Regions from separate parts of the Homo sapiens genome. Here regions 1, 3, 4, 5, 6 and 7 are each linked to region 2. Evidence: promoter capture Hi-C in 16 types of primary human blood cells and fetal thymus (Javierre and others, 2016). All regions are on one chromosome and are shown on one strand. Each heading gives the region's core, a stretch centred on a gene start or on the middle of the fragment in contact. The rest is flanking DNA. Distances are from core to core; before and after follow the strand shown.

Region 1 (3,784 bases), core at 385-2,884, 400 kb before region 2:
CACCAAGGATACTTGAAGCATTTGCCTAGAGCCATGAATGGTGCAGCAGGCAAATTCTGATAAACATTCACAAGACACTGATAAAAGACATGGGAAATGAATGGGATTCTCTAACTTACCCTATCAGTAAAAATCCTCACCATACAAAACGAAGTTGAGTACATCAAGAATTTTAAGAACAGTACTCACCTAAGAAACTCCAATTGCATTCCCCACCCCCCCTTTTTTTTTTTTAGACAGAGACTCACTCTGTCACCCAGGCTGGAGTGCAATGGCACAATCATAGCTCACTGCAATCTCAAACTCCTAGGTTCCAGTGATCCTCCCACCTCAGCTTCCTGAGTAGCTGGGGCTGCAGGCACACGCCACAGTGCCTGGCTTACTTTTTAAAACTTTTTTGTAGAGATGGGGGTCTTGCTATGCTGCCCAGGCTGGTCTCGAATTCCTGGGCCTAAGTGATACCTCCTGCCTCAGCCTCCCAACGTGCTGGAATTACAGGTGTTAGCCACCACGCCCAGCCTGTTGCATTCTTGACATCACTCATTTTTCTAAAGTTACCTATATGTATCTTGGAAGGAGGTGGTTACTAGAACAACAAATCATCCATAGTGTTTTTCTAATCTTCCAAGTACCAACAACAAAAGAGGTCTCTTAAATTTCTTGGATAATTTTCTTCTTTAACCACCTACCTCCCCCAACCTTCCCTTCATTCTGTGTCCTCCAAGCCTGATGCACTGTCTACACTGACTTCTCTTTTTTTAAGTATTACTCATAGGGCAGAGAGGGGCTATAAAAACAAAGAGAGATATATGGGCAGTAAATGTATAAAGTGAGTTTTTAAAAGACATTTGGGGGAACATATACATTCTATATGACTGAAGTACTCAATAATAGAAATGTTATTCAAGAAATAATCTGATGGAGATAGCACTGTGTTCATAATGCAATCTCAATGAATATATTATACTTTTAAAGAGAAGGCCTTTAAGATCAATTCTAATTTCTTGGATAGCACCCCCCTTATAATCATAAGTGGTGACTCAGTTTTTACCCACACAGAAATTACTCACTATATTGCTGCTTACTGGTTAATGCAACGGTCCCCAACCTTTCTGGCCCCCAACCTTTCTGGCATAAGGGACCAGTTTCATGGAAGATAACTTTCCTATGGATCCAGGGGATTGGAGGACGGTTTCAGGATGAAACTGTTCCACCTCAGATCATCAGGCATTGGATTCTCATAAGGAGTGGGCAACCTAGATCCCTTGCATGTGCAGTTTACAATAGGGTTCATGCTCCTATGAAAACTGAATGCTGCCACTGACCTGACAGGAAGCGGAGCTCAGGCAGAAATGCTCGCTCCGCACACCCTGCTCACCTCCTGCTGTGCAGCCCTGTTCCTAACAGGCCGCAGATCCATGCCAGTCCATGGCCTGGGAGTTGGGGACCCCTGGGTTAATGGACTTGTTTCTCCCTAGATTAGGGGAGAAATAAAAAGGTCAGAAAACTTTTCCTGTGAAGGGCCAGATAATACATACTTTAGGCTTCATGGGCCAGATAACCTCTGTTGCAACAATTCAAGTCTACAACTGTAACATGAAAGCAGGCATAAGACAATACAGAACATAAACACAAATTTTATTTATTTACAAAAACAGGTAGGTATAGAGCTGGACTTAGCCCACAGGCGGTGGTTTACTAACACCTGTCCTAGACCAAGAATCTTAGGCTCCAAAAACTTCTTTAATCCTCATGATACAATGGAAATCAGGTCACTATGTCCTTGTAACTTCAAGTTTCAATATTTAGAACAAGTCTTTTTTCTTAGTATGTGCAATGCTGTTCTAGCTTTTTAAATCAGAAGGATAAGGAAAAGGTAGGTATAAGAAGAAAGTCTGGTTTAGAAGACAGCTTTGGGGACTGGTAAGGAAAGACAGATATCTCTATTGCTTGGCAACTATAAGTGAGATTTACATACTGATATATTTTACTGACATGGCTATCTGATTATCTAGTTCTGAGTTAATAAAACATGCCTTAATTAATTGTTAAAAACTCCACTCCTGCTTGCTAATCCCCAAATCAGCTGAACTTTCCAAAAGTGAATGTACAAGTTCATATTTTGCTGTGATTTCATTATCCACTCACATTTTATTTCAAAAAGACAAGTTCTTCTTACTTGGGTAAAATAATCTATAATAACGACATTGATGACATTAAGACTGGTCAGGTAAACAAAAAGACAAGCCACAGAATGGGAGAAAATATTTGTAATTTGTATCTGACAAATAAGTTGTATTTAAAATATCAAAAGAACTCATACCTCAACAGTTAGAAGACCAACAACCCAGGCTGGGCGCAGTGGCTCATGCCCGTAATCCCAGCGCTTTGGGGGGCCGAGGCGGGCAGATCACCTGACGTCAGGAGTTCGAGACCAGTCTGACCAACATGGCAAAACCCCGTCTCTACTAAAAATACAAAAATAAAAAAATAGCTGGGCACGGTGGCACGCACCTGTAATCCCAGCTACTTGCGGGGCTGAGGTAGGAGAATCGCTTGAACCCAGGAGGCAGAGGTAGCAGAGAGCTGAGATTGCATCACTGCACTCCAGGCTGGACAACAAGAGTGAGACTCTGTCTCAAAAAAAAAAAAAAAAAAAAGAAGACAACCAACAACCCGATTTTTAAAATGAGTAAATTTCTGGACACACTTCACAAAAGAAGATATATATGTATGTGGCCAATAAGCACATCAAAAGATGCTTACTATCTTTAGTCATAAGAGAAATTCAAATTTAAACCACAATGAGTTACCATTCTATACCCATTATGTCTACAATTCTAAAGGCCAACAAAAGCAAATGTTGGCAAGAAAGGGAACTACTGGAATTTGGTGGTGGGGATGTAGAACTCTTTTCAAAAAGACAGTTCAGAAATTTTATTCACAACAGCCAAAAACGGGAAACAACACAACCATCGCCAGGTGAACAGATAAGCAATATACAGCCTGCTCATACAATGGAATTCTCAGCAGTAAGAAAGAACAAACTACTCACACATGCAAGCAGTATGATGAAATCTCAAAAAGCATTACACTACAGGAAAAGTACATACAAAAGGCTGTATACTATATGACTCCATTTATATCAACTGCTAGAAGAGGGAAATCATAATGATAGAAAGCAGATTAGTGGTTGTCTATGACCAGAGGCAGCAGAGAGATGGACTGCAACAAGGCACAGAGAATTTTTTGAAGGTGACAGAAACACTCGCATCTTGATTAAGGTATCTGACGGGTATACACATCTGTTAAAACTCCTTGAATTGTATACATTTAACAGATGCCATTTATTGTGCCTAAATTATATATCCATAAAATTGATGAAGAAACAAGAAAATAAAGACTGACCAGGTAAGAGTCTGATGAGCATGTAGCAGCAAACAGTCAGTGAAATTCCTACCAGATACTAAGATTTGGGGGAATTACATTGGTATTTGCCGTTCTGTTTCATGGTTCCATTTAAAAATTATTACTCATCAGAAAATTAAAAAGTAGTATATAAGAAGAAAGTTCATTACTACCCAAAGACAGCCACTGCCAAGAGTATTTTCTGTGTTCCTCTGAACGGAATCTTCCCCTCACTGAATTTCTGCTGGGCTTCTGTCCACCTAGTTAGAGACATTTTTCAGCCTCTCCCACGACGAGAAGTTGTCACATGATTATGTATGGCCAATGAAAGGTGGGAGAAAACGAAAGGCATGTTTTCCAAATCTGAATCAGGAAG
Region 2 (3,658 bases), core at 475-2,974:
AAAGTGGCTTCCTCCCTATCTTGTCTTCTCTTGTTTTTGTTACCACACTTTTTAATTTATATTTCTTTATTAACTGAAACAATTAATATAAAAGAAATAGAGATGGGATCTCGCTATCTTGACCAGGCTGGTCTCCAGCTCCTGGGCTCAAGCAATCCTCCCATCTTGGCCTCCCAAAGTGCTGGGATTACAGGCGTGAGCCACCTTGCCCTGTCTTCCTCAAGTTATCTTTCTAAAATGGAAGCTTGATCACATTTCTCCCATTGCCTACAAAATAAAGGTTGAGCTTCCAGGTCTTATTTACCATGCATACCATATGTTTTATTATCTACAGATCTGCATTCTGTCACTATTCTTCCTAATCTCCTTCTAGCCTAATCAAAACACAAGGAAACAAAAAACTAGAAAAACAAAACAAAAAGCTTTATGGATCACACTTTTTATTGGACACGATACTCTTCCTTTTTGCAATGTCCTCCCACTAGGCTCCCAACCAGGCCCTCCTGAAAAATTCTCTCTCAAAACTTTACTCTGTGCATGCACATACTTCTGTTGGGACACCTATTTTATACATACCATCTCAGGCAGAAAATTCCCAAACTGAAATGTACAGGCAACGTACTTTTATTCTACGGAGTTAACAAATTTTTAATTCCTTGTCTATGAGGTTGAAAATCCCAATTAAATTTCTGGTCTTCCCCTCTTGCTCCTGGGTTGTGGTTAAATTCTTGGGGAGTCTTCACAGTACCTAAGTTTTGGAGAAGATGTAGGCACCCGCCCTCATCCCTCCTTCAGATTTTGGCATCCTCTTCCTAGTATCTGTGTGTTGTTTGCATATTTCTGTATCGTTTTGCTTTTACAGAGCCACACTGAAGCTTGAGAATCTGAGGCTTTCTGTAGCTTCCCCGTACACAGAATCATTCCCTCTTTGGAGCCTTGCTACCTACTCCAGACTACTTGGAATGCAGACATTTGCTCATTACTCTGGGACCCAGGGGTATTCCCTTTCTCTTAATCTTATTAATATTTCACTTCAGAAGCATTTCCTGTGTTGTGAAATTTTTCTCAGAGGCTTCTTTAATTGGTTTAGATTTTTAATGGATTTAGTCACATAAAAGCCAATGACTCCCAAATTCTTAAGTCCTGTCCCATCCCAATACCTGAGGCAGGGAGAAAAATATAAATGACCATCGTTCCTAAATCTGATAGCTCAGTGGATACACCCGGGGAGCTTTTAAAATTAAGAGACACTCCCAAGCACAACTCTACAGCATCAGAATTTGTTTTCTTGACGATCACAGACGATCAAGGCAGAATTCTTCCATCAGTGGTGGGCGTGGGGCGGGACTCCACTCGGTCTTTCTGTCCTCTAAGTCTTCTAATTTTTTTCCCAGTAATCCGCCCTCCCGTTCTCCTTCTTTGGCCCATCCCTCTTCTAGTCTTTCCCTGCTCCCCTGCACCAATCTTTCTGCGTCCCGTCCCCTCCCATTCCCCTACCCCACCCCACCCCACCCCACCCCACGTTTCCCGCCTCCCGCGCCTCTCCCGCTTTCCGCCCCCTCGCGTCTCCTCCCCTCCCACCCGCACCTCCACCCCCTGCCTCTCTCCTGCCCGCCCCGCCCCCTCTTCCGCTCTACGTCCCTCCTCACCCATGCGCACTCTCTTCAACCCGCTGCTTCCGGCGGCCTAGGCTTACGTTTACTTTGCGCCGGAAAGAGAACCTGTAAACGCTCTCGGAATTATGGCGGCGGTGGATATCCGAGGTATACTGTATTGCTATATTTTGTCTCTTGATTGTCTGTGGACCAGTTTGGGATGTTATAGCTCGCGGTTTCAAGGTTTAGGTTCCTTTGTGTGAAGTCTCAAGCTTTTTTGAGTGGTTTTTGTGGACAACCCAAGGCTGTGATCTAGCGAAACGTTGACGAGTTTTTTTTTTTTTCTGAGTTCTTGGAGCGTCTCTTGGAAGCGTCGGAGAGAAGGGGTTGGAAGAAGCTCTGGGTTTTGAGCTTTCAGAGCTGGAGTTTTGTTCTACACACGTATCTCTGCAACAACATTAGGGCTATTCTATTGGAGTGAAGGAATGGCGTTTAGGCAGAGAAGGGAATGGGGTAATAAGCCAACTTGATTTGATTCATCTCTTGGGACTTGGCATGGTGGCTGCCTAATTCTTTAGACCGCGCCACACGGGTCCCTGAGCATGAATCCCAGATATTTTCTTTTTTTTTGAGTCGATAATACTTTACATCGAACGTCCAGCAATTATTATGGGCAGGGGTCGTATTTTTTTCACAGCTGAACTGCAGAAGTACTCAAATATTGAATCAGTCAGTGAATAAATGTATGGAGATGTCACCCCTTAACTGCTGCTTGATCTTGGGGAGCATGTAGAGTTGTTTTTGTGTATATAGTACTTGATTTTTAAAGGGAGATGTTTGAGATGCCTTTTTTTAATATTAACTGGATTGGGGTCTAACACATTTATTACAAATATTCTCATTTATACTTATCTGGCGATCTGCAGCACTTCTGGATCATGATTTTACATACGTGTCTTTCATTATTTATTTCATCACTTGCTGATGGTTAGAATGCTGTTAGAATGCTTGGGCTATGTCAACATGTTGCCTTGCTACAGAATAAAAAAGAGAAATATTTAGTTTATAAAATGTTTTACTTATAATTCAGATTGTTAGGATCATGGCAAAGACTCTAAAATAAGAGTGTGTTTGGTGTGTTAAAGGAACAGCAAGGAGGTCAGTGTGGCTGGAGGGTAGTGAGAGAGGATGTGGGAAGGAGATGAAGTCAGAAAGGTGTTGAAAGCTATGATAAGGTCTTTGGCTTTTCCTCTGAGTAAAACGCAGAGCCATTGGAGGGGTTTCCATCAGAGGAATGATGTGATCTGACTTTTTTTTAGGACTACATTGGCTGCTGGGAACAGTGTAGGAGGGCAAGGGTAGAATTAGGAAAACCAGTTAGGAGGCCATTTCTGAAAATGTTATTTCCTGGCCTGTTGTGTATTTGGTTATTGCATGATCCAGTTATGATGAACTATCTAAATGGTCTATACTAATTATTTGGTTATTAACGCACTTCATCTGTCTCCTCCTTTATTTTATAGCACACAAAGTACATTTTACCTTTATATAATTTTTCTCGGTTGAGTCACTTGGCTCAAAACTGCCTGTCACCTTGAATTAGGTCTGACTTCTTTGAAGATGCCTGAGGTAATGACAGTATAAGAGAGATTGAAGTTTTTCAACCAGTATTGTATAGGCATTTTGATGTTCATGATTTACACCTAGTGGTGTTCAGTACAGTCAGTGGTATGAAGCATCATGAAAGCCAATAGCCAATACAAGCTCATTTATTAAAAGTATCTAGCTCTATCATGTCTTTTTAAAAGCTATGATTTAATTCTACGCTAAATATGAAACCGTGTGGCTGTAGTTAAGGGAACTCTACTTCCTGTTTATCCCTTAGCTTTTACATCATTATCATCTCATCTACAATAATAGCTTCCTAACTTCTCTATCCCTAATTGAGAGATCTCAAACTGGTAGCTATAGATGTGTTCTCTTGGGCATACATGTTATTTGAAAATTTTGAATTCCTTGCCAGCATTAAGGATTTCCAATAAAAAAAAAAGTCCTTTCTAAAT
Region 3 (3,814 bases), core at 1,233-3,732, 420 kb before region 2:
AGTGCACATATGTGAATATCTGGACACATTTCTGTTGTCACAATTGGGGAAGTGGTGCTACCAGCATCTTGTAGGTAGAGGATGCCAAACATCCTACAATGCATTGGACAGCATTCCGCACCCTCAAGCAAAGAATTAGCTGGCCAAAATGTTAATACTGCAGAAATTTCAGACACCTTGAAGACAATACCCTTAACCAGAAGATCAAAATTAACATCACTAGTAACAGGATAAATTAGTATGTGCTTTCTAATATGATGCACTTTTGCAGTATTCCTACTTTAAAAAGCACGGCCTTATCAAATCAGAAACATCATCAGCACCATAAGACAGGGTGAAAAATAAAAAAAAAAATTTTTTTAAAGAAAAAACATCAGACAAACTCAAATTGAGGGATGGTCTATAAAATAACTGGCCTATATCTATCAAAAATTTCAATATCATGAAAGATAGCTTCCAAAGAATTGCTCCAGATTAAAGGAGATTTAAGAGACTAAACATAATCAAGGACTTTCTATTGCCAATGAAGACAATGGGCAAAACCTATTTGAATAAGATCTATATATTAGAAGACAGCATTGTACCAATGTTAATGTTCTAATTTTGATAATTATCTTGAATTAACTAACATAAAGGAATATCTTTGTTTCTAAGAAACACACTGAGATATTTAGAGATAAAGGGGCATCATGTCAGCTAGCAGAGAGAAAGAAGGAAAAATGATCATGTGCTAGAAAGGGATTAAGCAAATATCATAAATGTTAACTTGGGGATCTGGATGAATAGTATCTGAAATTCTTTGTACTGCCCTTCCAACTTTAAGTTTGAAATTACGTCAAAATAAAAAGTTGAAAAGCAATGTTTCCATATATCATTACACTTCAAAAATATTCTTACAAAACAGTAATCAGTCAAAAACAAAAACCACACTTGCCTCTTTGTTTTATTTTGCTCATCCATTCCCATTATTCATTATTCCAGTGAAAGGATTAAAAAAATTATATTCAAGGAAAAAAATCATAAACTATTCATGAAGTCTATTTTTGAACTACTTTAAATAGAATATCCTCTGTTCTATTAAAACCTCAATTTACATCTAAAATTGGATCCCATTTCACAATAAATAGTGCTAGGCAGATAATATTTTTGTCTAAAGTCACGAAGTGAATAACAAAGTTTTTATTCAATGGTCTTAACACCAGACTCAGGTATTACTTCTTTATTCTTGCTCCTAATGGTTACTCAAGTGAAATAATATAAAGTTTTTCCTACTTCAAAATTCTATTTTCAATACCTATTCATAAGCTATTATTCAAAATGTATTAAACACAAATAATCATGAGTTTATAAGAACCATGTCTACTCCCTGAAACAGACTATCAAAAAGTGAATTATCATGCTCATTTTCAACCAAGATTTAGAGTCCACAAGTACAATGTCATTTTATTTCAAGCTAACAAAACACCTATATTTCTAGTAGTGTGTCAAAACATAGATGAGGAAAATAATAACATAAATTTTAGTTCAGGCTGATGCATTCCAAACAAAACAAAAAAACAAAAAACAAACCACAAATATTATGATAAATGTTAAGGACCTATAATGTACAGCCATATTAAGAGTGACTTACATGTCTGGGAGAAGAAGAATCTGGTTGAACACTCTAAAAATGAAACAGAAAGACAAATTACACTCCTGAAGTCTTGCTAATTTTACAACCAACTTTCAAAATGCCTGAAATGAATGATTTTAAGTAAATATTCCACAACCACAAAATGACCTATATTAATAATTCTGTTCCAGAGATGAAACATCAGCTCCAGATACCAGTGTCACTGTGATATTAAAAACATATCAAATCTTTCCTGATAAGAGTCAGGAAATAAGATTATTATGTATTTATTTGTATCTATCTTAAAGTTTCTGCAATAGCATATGATAGACAGAGCCATCTTACTGTTTGGCTTATTGCTATATACAAGTGGAGTTAAGGTATACTAAATACAAGTATAGTATTTCTCACAGGACATCATTCATTCAGGAAATATACAATAATAGGGGTTCACTTATAACAACAATTCTAGTTCTGCCCATAAATTCCAAGCTTACTAAATAATTCAATGGTATTTGTAATAAAGATATTATCTGCATTTTCATATCAAAATAATCAAATAAGTTAAGCTGTATCCTTTTAAGAGATTTTATTAACTTCCCATAAAAATGTTCAGAAGGTATTATGCAGCTACTTCCCTACTCATGACTTTTCTCCCAAGTTTCAGTTCATTTCCAATGGCATACCATACAATTTCACTAGGATTATCTATCACCACCCTACCATTCGATACTGGGCCAAGCTCACTGAGTTTGGCATTTGGCCCTTGGCTAGATTTGACTCCAGATAATCTTTAAACTCTTTTAACCACAGCGCCTATCTTCTAAATGCTTCTGTTCTTGTCTTTCTTATCCCTGTTTATGACATTATTATTCTTCTAGTCAACTAGTTGCAAAAATCTGTCACCTTTTACCTTTTCCATATTTAACCACATTAACCTGAAAGCAGTGGACAAAATTAATTGGACCATGGAGACACTAGAGCCGCAAAATGAATTTAAATGATTTAGGGCACTAAAGGTATAGTGCAAGACTGACAACCAGTAATTTTAATATACAATCATTAAATGTCATCAAAGGGACTGGGTTACTTGTTATTAGTGATCAAGGAGGAAGGAGCAGTGACTCAAAGATTTTTAGCAGGTATATCACTGCCAAAAGCAAAGATATTGGGAAAGAAAAATTAACCAGGAGATGATTAATTTGCTATTTTTAAAATGTCTGTTAGATACACAGGACTAAAGCTTGCAAAAGAGGTGAAGACTTTGAGATATAAATCTGGAAATAACTCATATACAAAGGCAACAAATAAAGCAATAAAAAAGGATGACTTCACTGGAAAGGAACTGTAAACCGAGAAGATAACCACATAAGTCCTAGAGAATTCTCATAAATTAAGCAGTTGAAAGAACAAAGAGGGATCAACAAAGGAAAAGAGAGTCATCTGAAAAGTGAAAGAAACATGAGGGTGGTATAAAGTCATGATCAAAAATGAGGAGAATATCAAAATGGAAGAGTATACATAGGTATTAAATGATGTAGCATTCATAAAGCATGGAGACTTAAGAAAAGCAATTTAGCAATTAGAATGATCATTAGCAACCACAAAGACTATAATTTCAGTACTGCAATGAGGAAAGTATGGATGGGTCTTAAAGAAATAAAGCAGATGACCTAGGTGGCTTACTCCACATGTCTAGCTATAAATGGAGAAGAGAAAGAAAGGATGGACAGCTGTTAGTAAAAACAGAACTATGTCAATGGTTTTCCAGCTGTGGGAGGGCTTCTCTTCAAGGAGAACTACAAACCACTGCTAAGGAAATAAGAGAAGACACAAACAAATGGAAAAACATTCCATGCTCATGGATAGGAAGAATCAATATTGTGAAAATGGCCATACTGCCCAAAGTAATTCACAGACTCAATGCAACCCCTAGCAAGCTACCACTGACTTTCTTACAGAATTAGAAAAAACTACTTTAAATTTCATATGGAACCAAAAAAGAGCCCACATAGCCAAGACAATCCTAAGCAAAAAAAATAAAGCTGGAGGCATCACGCTACCTGACTTCAAACTATACTACAAGGCTACAGTAACCAAAACAGCATGGTACTGGTACCAAAACAGATATAAAGACCAATGGAACAGAACAGAGGCCTCAGAAATAACACCACACATCTACAACCACCTGATCTTTGACAA
Region 4 (4,034 bases), core at 1,378-3,877, 310 kb before region 2:
AGTGGTCTGAATAGAAGATCAAACCAGCCACAACATTCCCTTAATTAAGCCAAAAGCCTAATCCACAGCAAGGCCCCAACTCTCTTCAATTCTATGAAGGCTAAGAGGTGAGGAAGCTGAAGAAAATTTGACTCTAGCAGAAGTTGGTTCATGAGGTTAAAGCTGTTGCCATAACATAAAAGTTTACATGAAGCAACAAGTGCCGATGTAGAAGCTGCAGCAAGTTATCCAGAAGATCTAAGATCACTGATGGTGGCTACACCAAACAACAGATTTTTGGTGTAGATAAAACAACCTTCTGGAAGAATATGCCATCTAGGCCTTTCATAGCCAGAGAAGGTTAAGTCAATATCTGGCTTTAAAGCTTCAAAAGACAGGCTGACTCTTTTGCTAGTGTCTAATGCAACTGGTGACTGTAAGTTAAAGTCAATGCTCATTGGCCATTCCAAAAATCCAAGAGCCCTTAAGAATTATTCCAAATTTATTCTGCCTGTGTTCTATAAATGGAACAATAAAGCCCAGAAGACATCACATCTGTTTACAGCATGGTTTACTAAATATTTTAACCCCATCTTTGAGACCTACTGGTCTGAAAAAAAGATTCCTTTCAAAATACTACTGCTCCTTGACATGGTACCTAGTTATCCAAGAGCTCTGATGGAGACATAGAAGAAAATTAATGTTGTTTTCATGCCTGCTAACACAACATCTATTCTCCAGCCCCATGGATCAAGGAGTAATTTTGACTATCAAGTCTTAGTATTTAAGAAATACATTTCATAAGGCTGTCAGACAGTGATTCCTCTGATGGATCTGGATGAAGTAAACTGAGAACCTTCTGGAAAGGTCTCACCATTCTAGATGCCATTAAGAACATACATGATTCATGGGAGGTAGAAATATTAACATTGACAAGGTGTTTGGAAGAAGTTTATTCCAACCCTCATGGATAACTTTGAGGGGTTTAAGACTTCAGTGGAGGAAATCCCACAGATGTGGTGAAAACAAAAAGAGAACTAGAATTGGAAGTAGAGCCTGAAGATGTGACTGGATTGCTGTAATCTCATGACACAACTTGAAAAGATGAGGAGTTGCTTCTTATGGGTGAGCAGAGAGAGTGATTTCCTGAGATCCAATTTGCTCCTGGCGAAGACGCTGTGAACACTGTTGAAATGACAACAAAAGATCTAGAATATTACATCAACTTAGCTGACAAAGCAGTAACAGGATTTGAGACAGCTGACTCTAATTTTGAAAGAAGTTTTACTGTGGGTAAAACGCTATCAAGCAGCATTACACGTACAGATAAATCTTTCATGAAAAGAAGAGTCAATTGATGCTGCAAACTTCATTGTTGTCTTATTTTAAGAAATTGCCACAGCCACCTCAACCTTCAACAGTCACCCCCTGGTCTGTCAACAACACTTAGGCAAGACCCTTCACCAGCAAAAAAATGACAACTCGCCGAAGGTTCAGATAATCCTTGGCATATTTTTAAGCAATAATGTATTTTTTAATTAAGGTATATACATTGTATTTTTAGACACAATGGTACCGCACACTTAACAGACTACAGCATAATGTAAATATAACTTTTATATGCACTGGAAAACCACAAAATTTGTGACTCATTTTATTGCAATATTCGCTTTATCGCAGTGATCTGGAACCAAACTTGCAATATCTCCAAGGTACGCCTGTACTCTCTTTCCCTGGCTCTTTTTTCGTCTTCATTTTACAACTCTGTCTTCCTTTGCTGATTTCTAAATGCTGTTTAGGCCTTGGAATTCTGTCCAAGGCCATTTTCTTTTTAATGAGATAAACTTTCTTCCCAGAAGATCTACATGCTGATAACTTGCAAGTAAATTTTACCCCAGATTTCTCTCCTGAACATTCCTCTTCGACACTCTGAATTCATGTTCTCCAATCTCAAAGATACCTTCAAAATTGTTCAACAATCCTACCATCCCTTGATAGTTCACTTTTCCACTTACCAAAAGTAAGAATAGCATGTCACATTTGGGGGATCTCCCTCAAACCTTAAATATCCTCTTCACCTCCTCTTTCACTCTCAACAGAACACACTCACTTTGTCCTCTAAGGAGATTACATAAATCATAAAAGATGAACCTCAACTTTTCCCATGAACTGTTTATCCCTTCCTCCATGATTTATCCCTTCATCCTTCATCCTTTATCCCTTCATCCTTGCCTCCTTCCTTCCTGCTCTGAGGATAATCCTTTAACACATGTGCTTTCTGGACCACAATCCTATTTTGTATTCCAGGAACCCTGCATTATCTACCCATTTCTCATTCTCATATTTATATTCTCTCTCAATATAAAGATTCACTCAGTATTTGTAAAATGAGTATTTATCAAAGAAGATAATCCAACAAGTCTATTTTTAGGAATTTATACAAAATACTAGTACAAATATTTAACTACAAGAGTATTCACCCTACTGTTTTCTAAATAGCTAAAACCTGGAAATGACTTACATAACCAGTAAGAGGTAAATGATTAAACTGTAACACATATGATCTACTGCAGAGCTATTAAAAAGCCACTTACCCCCAACCCATGGAAACACTCATAATTTAAAGTGAAAATAGGAGACTTGAAAACAGTATGAATTCTATGAGCCCATTTTTGTAATCAAAGTAGTATTTAAAACTCCAAATATATTTTGGTTACTAAAATGTTCTACAGACAGGGGTGATGGAATTACCAATGGCTGTATTTTCTTTTTACTTATCTATAATTTCTGATTTAGACAAATAAATCAGAACAGCTGAACAAAAAGATTTTTAAATTAAAACATGGTCTTATTTGGAAAGAGAAAAGGGTTTTGAGATTCCGTAAAGTTTTCCAGTGTCTTTGAGTTCTGATAAAACCTATCCTCATGTTGGCATCTTTACATATAGTAGCCAAAAACTGGGAAGAGCCTAGCTGCTCATCTACACGGGAATGGATAAAGGTGAGCAAACTGTAGCACAGTCATACAAAGGAATATTACTCAGCAATAAAAAGGAAAAAAGCTACTGATACAACACCATGGATTAATCTCAACCACGTTATGCTGAGTGAAGGTGGCTTACACAAAGCATGTGCTACATGATTCCATTTATATGAAATTCTAGAACAGGATAACCTAATTTATAATGAAAAAAAGTCAGAACAAGGATGAGAGGACTGACTCAGAAGGTCAAGCAGAAACTATCTGGAGTGACGCTGATATTCTACAACATGCCAAGTCTACACTACGCAAACGTGTGCATTTATCAAAACTCATCGAATGGTTCACTGAAGATTGTGCCTTTAGAACCTACCTGACAATGCACCTGCTGAAGAGTTTAGGGGTGATTTGTATAGAAGTGTAACTTAATTTACATGCATCTCCCTAAAAAAGGGTGGACAGATAGAGGAATAAAACAGATAGAGACACAATATTTAAAAACACAGAATCCAGGTGGTGGGTACAATTTTCTCAACTTTCCTATATGTTTGAAAATTCTTTAATAAAATGTTGAAAGATTTAACTCTCAGTAAAGTCAGCTAGAGAAAGCAAATTACCTGACTGAATCTGTGTATTCAAAGGCTAGAAAAAAAATAGAAACTTTCCTAGTTTTCCAATCACCAAATGATTTTATGATTTGGAGTAATTTTCAAGTGGGAGAAAACACTCCACCTTTACGTCACAAAAGACAGAACATTTTATAAATCAACTGCTTTTTTTGTAAATTAATACACTTTTCTACAAATTGACAAATATGGCTGCTTTCTTGGAGGTCTAATTTTCTTTTCCTTTAGATTCAGCAAGGTACATGTGCAGGTTTGTCACATAGGCATATTAAGTGATGCTGAGGTTTGGCTTCTAATGATCCTGTCACCCAAGTAGTGAACACAGTAGCCAATGTATAGCTTTTCAACCCTCGCCCCCTACCCGCTTTTGGAATCCCCAGTATTTATTGTTCCCTTCTTTGTATCTGTGGGTATCCAAATGTTTAACTCCCACTTATAAGTGAGAACATG
Region 5 (3,899 bases), core at 484-2,983, 450 kb before region 2:
GTATAATGATAAAATGCCTTAGCACACTTTTGGAAATTAAAAAAAAATTCTTCCCCCTTCACCACACATGAACATAGCAGTTTTTTTTTTATTGTACAGTGTATGGAAAGACATCTAGGCATGCACTGTGAGAAAAAAGCTGACCAGGATGAAAAAAATGTATACTGTATATGGTTCTTAAAAATTCAAAGAGGTTAGAACATTCTTTGCCAAAGGAAGGTGTATGTATTAATGCTCAGTGATGCAATGTTCTTTGGAACAGTAGTTCCCAAAATGTGGTCCACAGAACCTAAGGCTCTTTCAGGCAGTTTTCCAGATCAAAACTATTTTCAAAGTAACACTGAGCTGTTATTTGCTTTTTACACTGTGTTGACAACTGCACTGGTGGTACTAAAGCAATGGTAGGTAAGACTGTGGTGCCTGGGCATTAATCAAGGCAGCAGCACCAAACTGTTCTACCCTTCGCTGCCACACTTGCACAATAAAGCAAACAAAAAGTCCAAGTTTCACAAAAAAATGTCCCTAATGAAGCAATAAAAAGTATTAACCTTAATAAATCTCAACTCACAGTAAAGGCCTTTTTAATACTCTGTATGGCAAAATGAGAAAATACGTATGAAGCACTTCTGCTGCCTTCTGAAGTACAACGGCTGTCATGAGGGCAAGTATTTGTGCAACTGCTTGAACTCCGAGCTGAACTAGCTGCGTTTTTTTCTTGGAACACCATTTTTACTTAACACTGATGGAAAAATTATGAGATTATTTAGATGTGGTCATTTAACAGATATTTCCCAAAAATAAAGAAAGTGAGCCTGTTATTTCAAGGAAAACAACTGGCAATACTTGTTGACAATAATAAAAATCCAAATTTTCAAGCAAAAATTAAAATTTGGGAAACTCCTATCTACCACCATAAGCTTGACAACTTCCCAATAATTAAAATTTCTTTCCGATTGGTGGTGATGCCAATGAACATATTTTAAAATTCACTACATAATAAAATGTATCAACATTTAGAAAATCTACATTACTCAGTGAAGCAGTATTTTCCAAATGACCAACACAAAATGTTAAAAAATTATGCATGGGTAAAAGATCCATTCAGGATATAAGACAGATGAGTGAATTTTGATGTAATATAGTCCCACAAGTTCACAGATATGGTTTTAGATTCCATATTGCAAGTAGCTTTTAAGAAGCTCCCATTTCTTGGGTTTCAGTGAAAGATCAAAGAAAAATATCCATGATTGTCTTAAAAGGCTATTAGAATACTTCTTTTTTGCCTGGGCAAGGTGGCTCATGCCTGTAATCCCAGCACTTTGAGAGGCCAAGGCAGGCAAATCACTTCAGATCAGGAGTTTGAGACCAGCCTGGCCAACATGGTGAGTGAAGGTGAATTTTTTTTTTCAGCTACTTCAATCAAAACAATATACTGCACCTGACTGAATGTACAGGTAGATACAAGAATCCAGCTGTCTTTTAATAACCCAGACATTAAGAGATTTGCAAAACTATATAACAATGCCACTCTTCTCACTAATTTTTTGGGGGAGTGGAAATATAGTTATTCTTAACTTTAAAATGTTATTTATGCTAATATACAATAGATACGACATTGTTATTTTTAAATTAGTTAATAAGTAAACATTTGAAATTTTTGAGTTTTTCTTTCCACTCTAGTAAATATTAGTAGATAAAATCCATATTTTTAAAACTCTGGTGTTTCCAATAATTTTTAAGACCATAAGGCCGGGCACAGTGGCTCACGCCTGTAATCCCAGCACTTTGGGAGGCCGAAGCGGGTGGATCACCTGAGCTCAGAAGTTCAAGACCAGCCTGGTCAACATGGTGAAACCCCATCTCAACTAAAAATACAAAAAATAGCCAGGTGTGCTGGTGGGCGCCTGTAATCCCAGCTACTCGGGAGGCTGAGGCAGGAGAATTGCTTGAACCTGGGAGGCGGAGGTTGCAGTGAATCAAGATGGCGCCATTGCACTCCGGGAGGCGGAGGTTGCAGTGAGTCGAGATTGTGTCATTGCACTCCAGCCTGGATGACAAGGGCAAAACTCTGTCTCAAAAAAAGAAAAAGAAAAGAAAAGAAAAAAAAAGAGTATAAAGGGGTTCTAAATCCAAAAAGTTAAGAACTGCAGCCACTGAACATTACTTTGGGCTAATTGGTCCAGAGGAATAATAATTAATAACACCAAAATTCACCAAAATGGGAAATATCATGTGTGGTTTTAGATAAAGGACCAGAGTAAAAGTTTCAAACCTACAAACTAGCCCACTGTTTAAAAGGTGAGATTACAATTTTCACCTATTAAATATGCCAATTTGTGAAAGTATAGAGAGAAAGGCAGTCATGGAGATGGTCAGTAGAATTATAAATTAGTACAAGCTCTTTCTAAACCAATGTGTTTATATTAAAAGCCTTAAAAATGTTTATGCTCCATAACTCATAACTCCTAAAAGCGTTCCCTTTTAGGAACGCTTTCTGAAACAAAATGAAATTTGGAGAGATTACATACAAGGATAGTTACTAAGCTTCAGATTAAGTAGCTAGCCCAAGGAACTAAGCCTAAATGGAGAAAATACTTCATGCACAAAGATGGTCATTACAAACTTATCTTCTCAAAATAGCAGAAATAACCTATAAAAATTTAGCTTTAGAAATAGCCAGGTATTTCTAAGAAAACTATAACTCATTATGACTGTTATAACGATATTATATAGCATAAAGTTGCAGAGTATTATTAATGTGAAATAATTCAATATTACTGAAAGAAAAAATATAAACATGAACATATTCAATCAGAACAATGTTTAAAAATATCTTTTAAGTAGGAAAAAATGGCTGAGCACAGTGGCTCATGCCTGTGATCCTAACACTTTGGGAGGCTGAGGCGGGTGGGTCACTTGAGCTCAAGAGTTTGAGAGCAGTATAGGCAACACAGTCAAACTCCATCTCTACAAAAAATACCAAAATTAACCGACGTGGTGGCTCAAGCCTGTAGTCCTCGCTATTCAGGAGGCTGAGGCAGGAGGATCACTTGAGCCCCCCAGGAGGTGGAGGTTGCAGTGAGCAGAGACGCACCACTGCACTCCAGCCTGGGCAACAGAATGAGACCCTGTATGAAAAAAAAAAAAGGAAAGAAAGAAAAATAAAAAGTAATTTCCTCTGGCCTCTTCTTTTATATACTTTTCAAATTTTAAGACTATTTATTAAGTTTTAGCAAAAATAAATATTTCAACACAATAAATTATGAACCATAAATTCTAATAATAATGCTGTCAATAGTTTTTCCCAGTAGGAAAGATAAAAATTGTTTTTCAAGTGTTTTACTTTACTCACTTATAGTCTCTCTCCCAGAATTTCACAGGTCGGACATATGAAGTGATGAATATTGCACTTCCCAGAAAGGGGTTCAGTGGAGTAGAGAAGAAGGCCGAGACAGCAGCCTGAATAAACAGCATGGCTGAATCTATGGGAAAACTAGTTAAGGACACTGACATTCATCTGAGCACAGATGCCAAACAAACCCTCGCAAAAACCTAGCAGACACATTTAGATTACCTCAATTAGAGAACTGAGGTTCACCAGAAGAATACAAAAGAAGGTATATCACTGGGCAGTCATTAAGGGGTCACCAACAGAAAGACATACATAAAGTACAACCTGGTATGCTGCTTTCAAAGGAGCCAAATCAGTATTTGCTAATATGTATTTGGTAAAATTCATATATTAATCTTGGGAAGAGATGTTAGAGTTCAATTTTCCACAAGGGTAAAACTAAAACTTGCAGATACCATAAGTCTGTCTTTCCATATCAATGTGGTTACTAACCCTTACTATTATTTAGAAAATACTTCTAAGAAATCGTGGGAGTAGAAAATTTTTT
Region 6 (3,874 bases), core at 897-3,396, 380 kb before region 2:
AATGTAACCGTTGGATTCCCAGAACTTCACTGCTGAGAGAAAGAAAAACACTGTAATGTTTGTTCCTACTTGAAAAAATCTGGCATGGGCTGGTTTTGGGAATTCTATATACAAACATTTATTTGCTTCACCAATAAACACCACTTTTCTTGATATTGTTGTAAAGGAAGATAATTTTGCCAAACCTATTTTGCTGTATTTAATAAGCATTCTTCTGTGCAGTTTTATATATGTCTAAGCTTTTTTCACAGTAAAGAACATCTTTCCTTAATGAAATCAAGGTCAGCCACATATACAATGAGTATAGCATTATACTTTAATACAGTATTAAGTTATGCTATTATGATGTCTTTGAACACTATTAAAATGATAGTCTGTCCCTGCATTTAATGACCACACACCGCTGGGTTTCCTGCTTTGGCTTGTACAGTTATTACAGCTTCTCTTTTAGGGTTAGCTGTGTATTTCTTCTGCTGTCATTACTTCAGCTTCTATAAGTACCCATCCCTTCTACTAATTTACTGCTTCTAACTTTCCATGTGAACTGGGAAATCAGAAAATTAAGTTTATTAGACTTGAGAGTCCTTCTATTTAGTAAAGTACAAAAGCTACAATTTGCATTTTATTGTCTGTTTACTGGTCTTTATCTTCTGTCTAATGCTCAATGATATCTGGGTACAAAATAACACACCTTCAATTTATGTGTATAGCACAAACCCTCATAAATTTTTATTGAAAAGATCTGACTTTTCTTTAAATAATTGTTTCTTTGAAGATTATTTTTGGTTCCCAACACAATATTATATTAGGATCCTATTTCATGCTTACAGAATAGTGACTCAAACATTATATTTAAAATAAATTTCACAGAGAAATAGAAGTTAAACAATTCAGAAAAAAAGCACAAAGAATAGTAAGTAAACACAAACCTCTCCACTCGGGCTATTCTTTGTAATCCATTAAGTGACACAGAAAATATGCTATAACAACAGTATTGAATCACACAGGAAATAAGTTTAAACGGTCCAAAAGAAAACGACTTCCTTAAAAGTAATACAGGCTAGAAAACACAGGACATTTTTCTACCATATAGCTTCTATGTAGTTTTCATTTCTTAAAATATTAGTCATAAAGATATGCCTTATAATTTAAAAAGAAAAATTAAGTACAAAACAAGAGATCAACAGAAAATGACTTAGTTTGAACTTAAAACATATTTCCTGTCTCAGTAATCACAAACCATTATTGATGAAATTCAGTTTTAACCAAAGAACTTGACTAATGACAGGACGTATGAAAACAATCACTTGTTACGTGACTAAAAAAGATGTTATATGACATATTACTGCCAAAATAAGGTCCATGTCACTAAATTGATGTTAATAAAAATGTTTTTCCTATTGGCATTATGTAAGAAACTAGGGAATCAGAATTTTTTATTTTTACTATTGAGTTTCACAATGGCACACTTAGACTATCTCTAGTTTATTTCTACATTTAATCACTTTCTTCTACTTTAATTTTATACCACTGAATTAGTAAGGTTAAACGACAGGCTACACTGTGCAGCATAACTAACTGGCCTTGAACAGTCACAGCAGCACTAGTAAGCATTTACTGTGTGCCAGGAACTTAACTCCTTAGTCCTCACAACAACCCTATGAGATAGATACTATAATCATCTCATTTTAAGATGAGGAAGCTGAGGTTTGTAAGTAGCTTTCCTAGAGTCACAACAGTGGAGCCCACATACTAACAAAGGTATCTGACTCCATGTCACTAAACTAGATTACCTCCTATTTTAGCATACTTTATTTTAGTACTTTAAAGTCTATTTCCTAAATTCCATCTCTCTACACTACCACCACCACCTACCTTAAAATAAAATGAAAAGAAATCGTTGGAGAACTTATCGACACCTTCATATTCTTTAGGATAAAATCTACCTATGGTTTATGCATAGGTATATGAATGGCCAAGCAGTAACATGATGGTTGACAGGTTTCAGTAGTACAGTATGTAAGGAAGGATAGCCCAGAAACATTTCTTCTAAATTGTCAGACAGGACTGTAACAGATAATGTTAACATAAACAAGTATCTTTAAACAGTATTTGAGAGTCTCTGTAATTTTTAAATAATAAGAACCAAAACAAATCCCCTTCTACCACCTCCAACCTTTCAAAAAGCCCAAGTAAACTCCCAACAAAACCCCTATATTTAGTTATGATAAAAACCAATTAAAAAACCCCCAACACATTTAAGTGCTTTAGTTTTGCTCTTATTTGTATTCTAAACCCAATGAAGCTCAAATTAAAAAAGCCTGTGCAATGCCTGCCCCAGGCAAAAAAATGTTTTTAAACAGCCCACAGACTATTACATTTCTTCCACCAAAGCAGATATTTTTATTTCATTATCTCTTATTAACATTTAATTGAGTTATTTAAATTAAAAAAAAGCAGTACAAACAAAAGAAAACAAAAGCTAGAGCCTAGAAAAACAAGGGCTAATATAGCTTAAAGAACAGCACCGAGAAGCAAATAACACCTTTCAGGTAACTTTTCCTAAAAAACAGAACACCTCACAGTCCCCATGAAAAGGAAATGACATTTTAAATATAAACGCATGAATTTACTACATATTTTTGTACACATTTTTTCAGTATTTACATTTCCACAATATTCAGAACAGCAATATTTTTCTATCATAGCATGTTGACTTAAAATTCATTTTGATAACTTTAAAAATTAAGCTATATTTTAAAATCCAATGGTTTCTTGCATACTGTGAACATATCTGATATGATTTGTGTGAGAAATCACTACAAGCATTTCAGGTTGTTTACAAAAAAAAAAAAAAAGAGAGAACTATATCCAGGTCAAAGACTCGAGGGAATTTAATTACTCTACTGTCACCAAATGGTTATAACCACTTCAGATATAATTAGTTCTCAATATTTAGGTTTGATAAACTATATTCTTCTTTAGGTACTAGAAAATTTCTTTACGTTCCCATTAGAAATTAATCTGGCTAGAAACTTGACCCCCAAAAAAATCTAAGAAAATGTTTACCACAATATGGACTTTTAAAATACTTCGGGTGAAATTAACATCTTTGAGAAAAAGCATATATTCATATGTTTCATAATGTTTGTACAAACAAAATCCAGCTTAACTTTTAATAAATGACTGAACATTACTGTATCAAACAGACTATAACTTTAAAACTAATGATACAAGCATAAATAAAGGGAATAGGGGTAGAGGCTAAAAATGCTAAGGTACTAACAACAAAAGACCTGATTTTTCTGATTCTATTCAAGAAGCAGATTCCATAAAAACCAGAACCAAATAAACAAACTATCTTGGGCAGAAGAACACAGCAAGAAATAACTCTGAAATAAAGAGGCCAACACACACTGACAGAATATAAAATCACCTATCCAAATTTGCACAATTCTCCAAAAACCTGAAATAAATAAGCTATTACTTTAACCAGAACACCATCACTGTTATTATGGGGGCATCTTACATCAATTAATGGATACCAAATGTCAATATAAACTACAAATCTGAATTTAATAAACTTTAAGAATAATGTGTGAAATTATAGAAAAAAATAGTATTTTCGTAACGCCTAAAACTTGAGTAAGCAAGAAATAAAACCAAAGATACAGACTTAAAAAAAGAGCCACAATTCTCAATGTACATAATCAGATCTAAAGTAATATTTGTAAAACTCTTATATAATAGGCTGAGTGATCTAATTTTGAAAGTTCAGTGTCATATACTGTATAAGAGTTGATTAAAACTGGTTTGGTGCCCTTAAATAATTATATATTTTATTGTTGCTATTGCTATACAAAGGAAGAGGGCT
Region 7 (3,720 bases), core at 1,187-3,686, 350 kb before region 2:
CAAAATAAACTGCGACATTTTAGGGGGAAAAACAAAATTATACTAGCATAAATACTATAAAATCATAAATTTCCTTTTAATGGAGAAAATGAAAAACTATTACTGAAAGGTATTTAAAAAGACTAAATAAATGGAGAGATTCAATATTGTAAAGATGCAAATTCTCAGCAGAGGGACCTACAAATTTAGTGTAGCTCCAATAAAAATACCAAGTTCCTATAGACTTTCTCTAGCAGACTCTGAAGTTTACATCAAAAATCAAAGAGCCAAGAATAGCGAAGTCTCTCCTAAAAAAGAATATGGTAGGAGGTTTAACCCACTGGCTATCAAGAGTCATGTTTTAAAGCTGATAAGGATGGTATGGTAATGGCACAGGCAAGCAGATCAACAGAACAGAACAGAACAGAACAGAGAGCCCAGAAACAAGCCACCAGAAATGAAAATTTAGCTTATGCCATAGAGACTGCTGCAAATTACTAAGGAAAAGATAGTCCACTTAACAAATACTGGGTAAATCAGAGATTCATAAAGAAAAAAATAAGCCTTAAGAACCTACCTGATACTACAGACTTAAATAGCTTTGGGTAGAATTGAAATGTGAAAACAAAAGAAACATGAAACTTCAAAAAGACAATACAGAATACCTTTCTGATCTCCGTGTAGAAAATAATTCAGACACAAAAATGCTAGCCAGGCGCGTGGATCACGCCTGTAATCCCAGCACTTTGGGAGGCTGAGGCGGGTGGATCACCTGAGGTCAGGAGTTTGAGACCAGCCTGGCCAACATGGTGAGACCCCAACTCTACTAAAAATACAAAATTAGCCAGGTGTGGTGGCACATGCCTGTAATCCCAGCTACTGAGGAGGGAAGGCAAAAGACTAGCTTGAATCCAGGAGGCAGAGGTTGCAGTGAGCTGAGACTGTGCCACTGCACTCCAGCTTGGGCGACAAAAGTGAAACTCCAATTCATTAAAAAAAAAAAAAAAAAAAGAAAGAAAAAAACACAAAAAACAAAAAACCTGATTACTAAAAAGTGGTAAATTTCATTGTTCTAAATTTAAGAGTATATGATAATCATAAGAAACTTTAAGGAAAGCAAAATGACAAGCCACAAGTGGGAGATGACTGTAATATATACATAACTAATAAAGGAATAGCATGAATATATAAAAAAATAAAAAATTCCTATTAATCATTAAGAAAAAGACAGCTCCAAAGAAAAATGAAACAAAACATAAATGAGCATTGGAAAAAAGAAAAAACCTAAATGGACCATATATAAAAAAATAAAATGTTTAACCTCAGTAGTAATCAGAAAGCTTAACTGAAAGTCACAATGAGACACCTTTTACATTTCATGAATGGCAAATTTTTTCAAGACAGGGTCTTGCTCTGCCACCCAGGCTGGAGTGCAGTGGTGTGATCAAAGCCCACTGAACTCTTGAACTCCTGGTCTCAAGTGATCCTCCTGCCTCAGCCTCCCAAGTATCTGGCACTACAGGTGCACACCACCATACCTAGCTAAAATTTTTTTTTATTTTTTATTTTTTGTAAAGACAAGGTCTCACTATGTTGCCCAAACTGATCTGGAACTCCTGGCTTCAAGCTGTCCTCCCATCTCTCCCTCCCAAAGTGCTGGGATTACAGGCAGGAGCCACCTTGCCCAGCCAATTTTCTTCTTTTAAATCCCAAATCAATAGCTAAGTGAATGGAAAATTTTTAAGGTTTACCAATATCAAATGTTGATGAAGATGTGAACAATAAGGACTTTCATACACTACCGGTGAGAGTATAAACTGGTAAAATCATTTTGGCACACAGCTTGGAATTGCCTGATAAAATTGAACATGAAAATGCCCTATAAACCAGCTTACATAAACTAGATATACACATGTACCACAAGACAAAAAACACTAGAAATAATCTGAATGGCTATAAATAGAAGAATGAATAAATAGACTATGGTCTATTCTTACAGTGGCAGACTACATGTAGGTCAATATGAATAAACTCTAGCTACAAACATCACCATGCGTGAGTCAATAAAGTATAATATACTGTGCAAAAAAAAAATCTCTCATAGAGAAATGCATACTGTATGATTCTCTTAGGATGTCCTAAAGCAGACAAAAATAAATAAATATATTCAGGAATATCTACGAAGAGTGTGTAACAATAAAGAAAAGCAAGGGAGTTATTCACAAAAAATTCAAGATTATGGTTACTCCTGAAGGGAAAAGTGGAATGAAATGGGAGAGGAATGTCATGAAGCTTATATGGTATTTTTATAATGTTTTATTTCTTAAGCTGTGTGGTAGGTAATGAAGTAGTCACTTGATTATTGCTAACTTAGTGTTTGGAATACATATTTCACAATAAAAAATTTTTAAAGTAAAAGAAAATGGAAAAAACAATTCAGAAGCAATGACAAATATATATAATATCCAGAAATAATTAGAACAATTATCAAGTGTTACCATGTGTCAGGAATTATTCTAAGAACTCTCTATATATTATTTCATTTATTCATTGTAATAATCCTATGAGAGAGTTCCATTATTTTCCTCATCATTCTGACAAGAAAGCCAACTCAAAAGCTTAAGTAGCTTCTCCAATGTCTTACAATTAAGAAGCCTTGACTGACTGAGTGTGAAGTCTACATTCTGTCCACTTATCCACAATGTACGAATATGCATTTCTTAACAGAAATAGAATAGGCGTAGGAAATGTACAGAAACCATTTAAAAAATGTGAAAGGTTATAAGACATAAAAGATAAGTGAATAAAGAGATGATAAATAAAAACATAAGAAAATAAATGGAAATCTCTCATCTATATCCCTATTTTAAAAGTTGAGTTTCTACAATTTAATAGAATTGTCATCAAAATTCTAACGAAATTTTCTGGAGGATAAGCACACATGAAGATATCTCACAAAAGTAAGTATATGCATGAGAATAATCAAAATAATATCAAAAAAGGTCAGGTGTGGTGGCTCATACCTGTAATCCTAGCACTTCAGGAGACCGAGGCAGGCAGATTACCTGAGGTCGGGAGTCCAGCACCAGCCTGGCCAACATGATGAAACCCCGTCTCTACTAAAAATACAAAAATTAGCTGGGCGTGGTGGTGCATGCCTGTAATCCCAGCTACTTGGGAGGCTGAGGCAGGAGAACCGTTTGAACCTGGGAGGTGGAGGTTGCAGTGAGCCGAGATCGCACCACTGCACTCGTCTGGGCAACAGAGCAAGACTCCATCTCAAAACAAACAACCAACCAACCCCCGCCCCCCAAAAAAATAATAATATCAAAAAAGTAAAATACTGGAGTCACTCACAATGCTAAGTATTAAACATATTATAAAGCCACTATGATAAAAACAGTATGGTATAAATGAAAAAAGGCAGAAAGATGAAGCAGAAAACTAAGTTCAGAAACTAGCATAAGTATATACAGTATACTACATGAAAAAGAAAGCATCTAAATTTACAGGGAAAAAATTTGTTACTTAATGAATGGTGTTGTGATAAACAAACCTAAACAAATTAAGTTAAAATGTTTTCAAACTGACAACAATTTAAGAGTAAAAAGTAAAATGATAAAAATACTGAAAGTAGATACAAAGATCTTAATTTATTGTATATTTATATAATTTGAGGGAAGGAAAATCTTAGAAAACGTTATCAAAAGCAGAAATAACAAACACACAAAATTGGACCAC

Evidence for each region. The method cuts DNA at HindIII sites, captures the fragments that hold promoters and counts their contacts. A CHiCAGO score of 5 or more calls a contact.
Region 1: a contact is called between a fragment that was not itself captured here and the fragment with the promoter of MED6 in region 2, in 4 of 17 cell types (naive CD4 T cells, naive CD8 T cells, total CD4 T cells and 1 more). The highest score is 9.1, in naive CD4 T cells.
Region 3: a fragment that was not itself captured here is called in contact with the fragment with the promoter of MED6 in region 2 in 1 of 17 cell types (naive CD4 T cells); the score reaches 6.9 in naive CD4 T cells.
Region 4: a fragment that was not itself captured here is called in contact with the fragment with the promoter of MED6 in region 2 in 1 of 17 cell types (naive CD4 T cells); the score reaches 6.0 in naive CD4 T cells.
Region 5: a contact is called between a fragment that was not itself captured here and the fragment with the promoter of MED6 in region 2, in 1 of 17 cell types (naive CD4 T cells). The highest score is 6.0, in naive CD4 T cells.
Region 6: a contact is called between a fragment that was not itself captured here and the fragment with the promoter of MED6 in region 2, in 6 of 17 cell types (total CD4 T cells, naive CD4 T cells, naive CD8 T cells and 3 more). The highest score is 8.7, in total CD4 T cells.
Region 7: a fragment that was not itself captured here is called in contact with the fragment with the promoter of MED6 in region 2 in 1 of 17 cell types (naive CD4 T cells); the score reaches 5.0 in naive CD4 T cells.

The regions. Positions count from the first base shown.
Region 1 is chr14:71,001,957-71,005,740 of GRCh38, reverse strand. All of the region lies in intron 8 of PCNX1 (pecanex 1), which reads right to left. Among named protein-coding and RNA genes, the nearest start is that of PCNX1, 96 kb to the right of the region's middle. The HindIII fragment of the contact is 5,736 bases long and covers 1-3,784 here.
Region 2 is chr14:70,598,721-70,602,378 of GRCh38, reverse strand. MED6 (mediator complex subunit 6) reads left to right here and starts at 1,724. Exons shown (of 8, transcript NM_005466.4): 1 at 1,724-1,763. The coding sequence starts at 1,742. RefSeq lists an enhancer at 1,023-2,222. The HindIII fragment of the contact is 992 bases long and covers 878-1,869 here.
Region 3 is chr14:71,021,049-71,024,862 of GRCh38, reverse strand. It overlaps PCNX1 (pecanex 1), which reads right to left. Exons shown (of 36, transcript NM_014982.3): 13 at 1,631-1,663. Among named protein-coding and RNA genes, the nearest start is that of PCNX1, 120 kb to the right of the region's middle. The HindIII fragment of the contact is 751 bases long and covers 2,107-2,857 here.
Region 4 is chr14:70,914,105-70,918,138 of GRCh38, reverse strand. All of the region lies in intron 1 of PCNX1 (pecanex 1), which reads right to left. Among named protein-coding and RNA genes, the nearest start is that of PCNX1, 8.7 kb to the right of the region's middle. The HindIII fragment of the contact is 4,522 bases long and covers 367-4,034 here.
Region 5 is chr14:71,051,466-71,055,364 of GRCh38, reverse strand. PCNX1 (pecanex 1) reads right to left here. Exons shown (of 36, transcript NM_014982.3): 24 at 3,353-3,482. Among named protein-coding and RNA genes, the nearest start is that of PCNX1, 150 kb to the right of the region's middle. The HindIII fragment of the contact is 1,627 bases long and covers 920-2,546 here.
Region 6 is chr14:70,978,948-70,982,821 of GRCh38, reverse strand. The region is part of intron 6 of PCNX1 (pecanex 1); the gene reads right to left. Among named protein-coding and RNA genes, the nearest start is that of PCNX1, 73 kb to the right of the region's middle. The HindIII fragment of the contact is 3,810 bases long and covers 242-3,874 here.
Region 7 is chr14:70,950,935-70,954,654 of GRCh38, reverse strand. All of the region lies in intron 2 of PCNX1 (pecanex 1), which reads right to left. The region is part of intron 1 of LOC105370557 (a long non-coding RNA gene); the gene reads left to right. Among named protein-coding and RNA genes, the nearest start is that of PCNX1, 45 kb to the right of the region's middle. The HindIII fragment of the contact is 326 bases long and covers 2,274-2,599 here.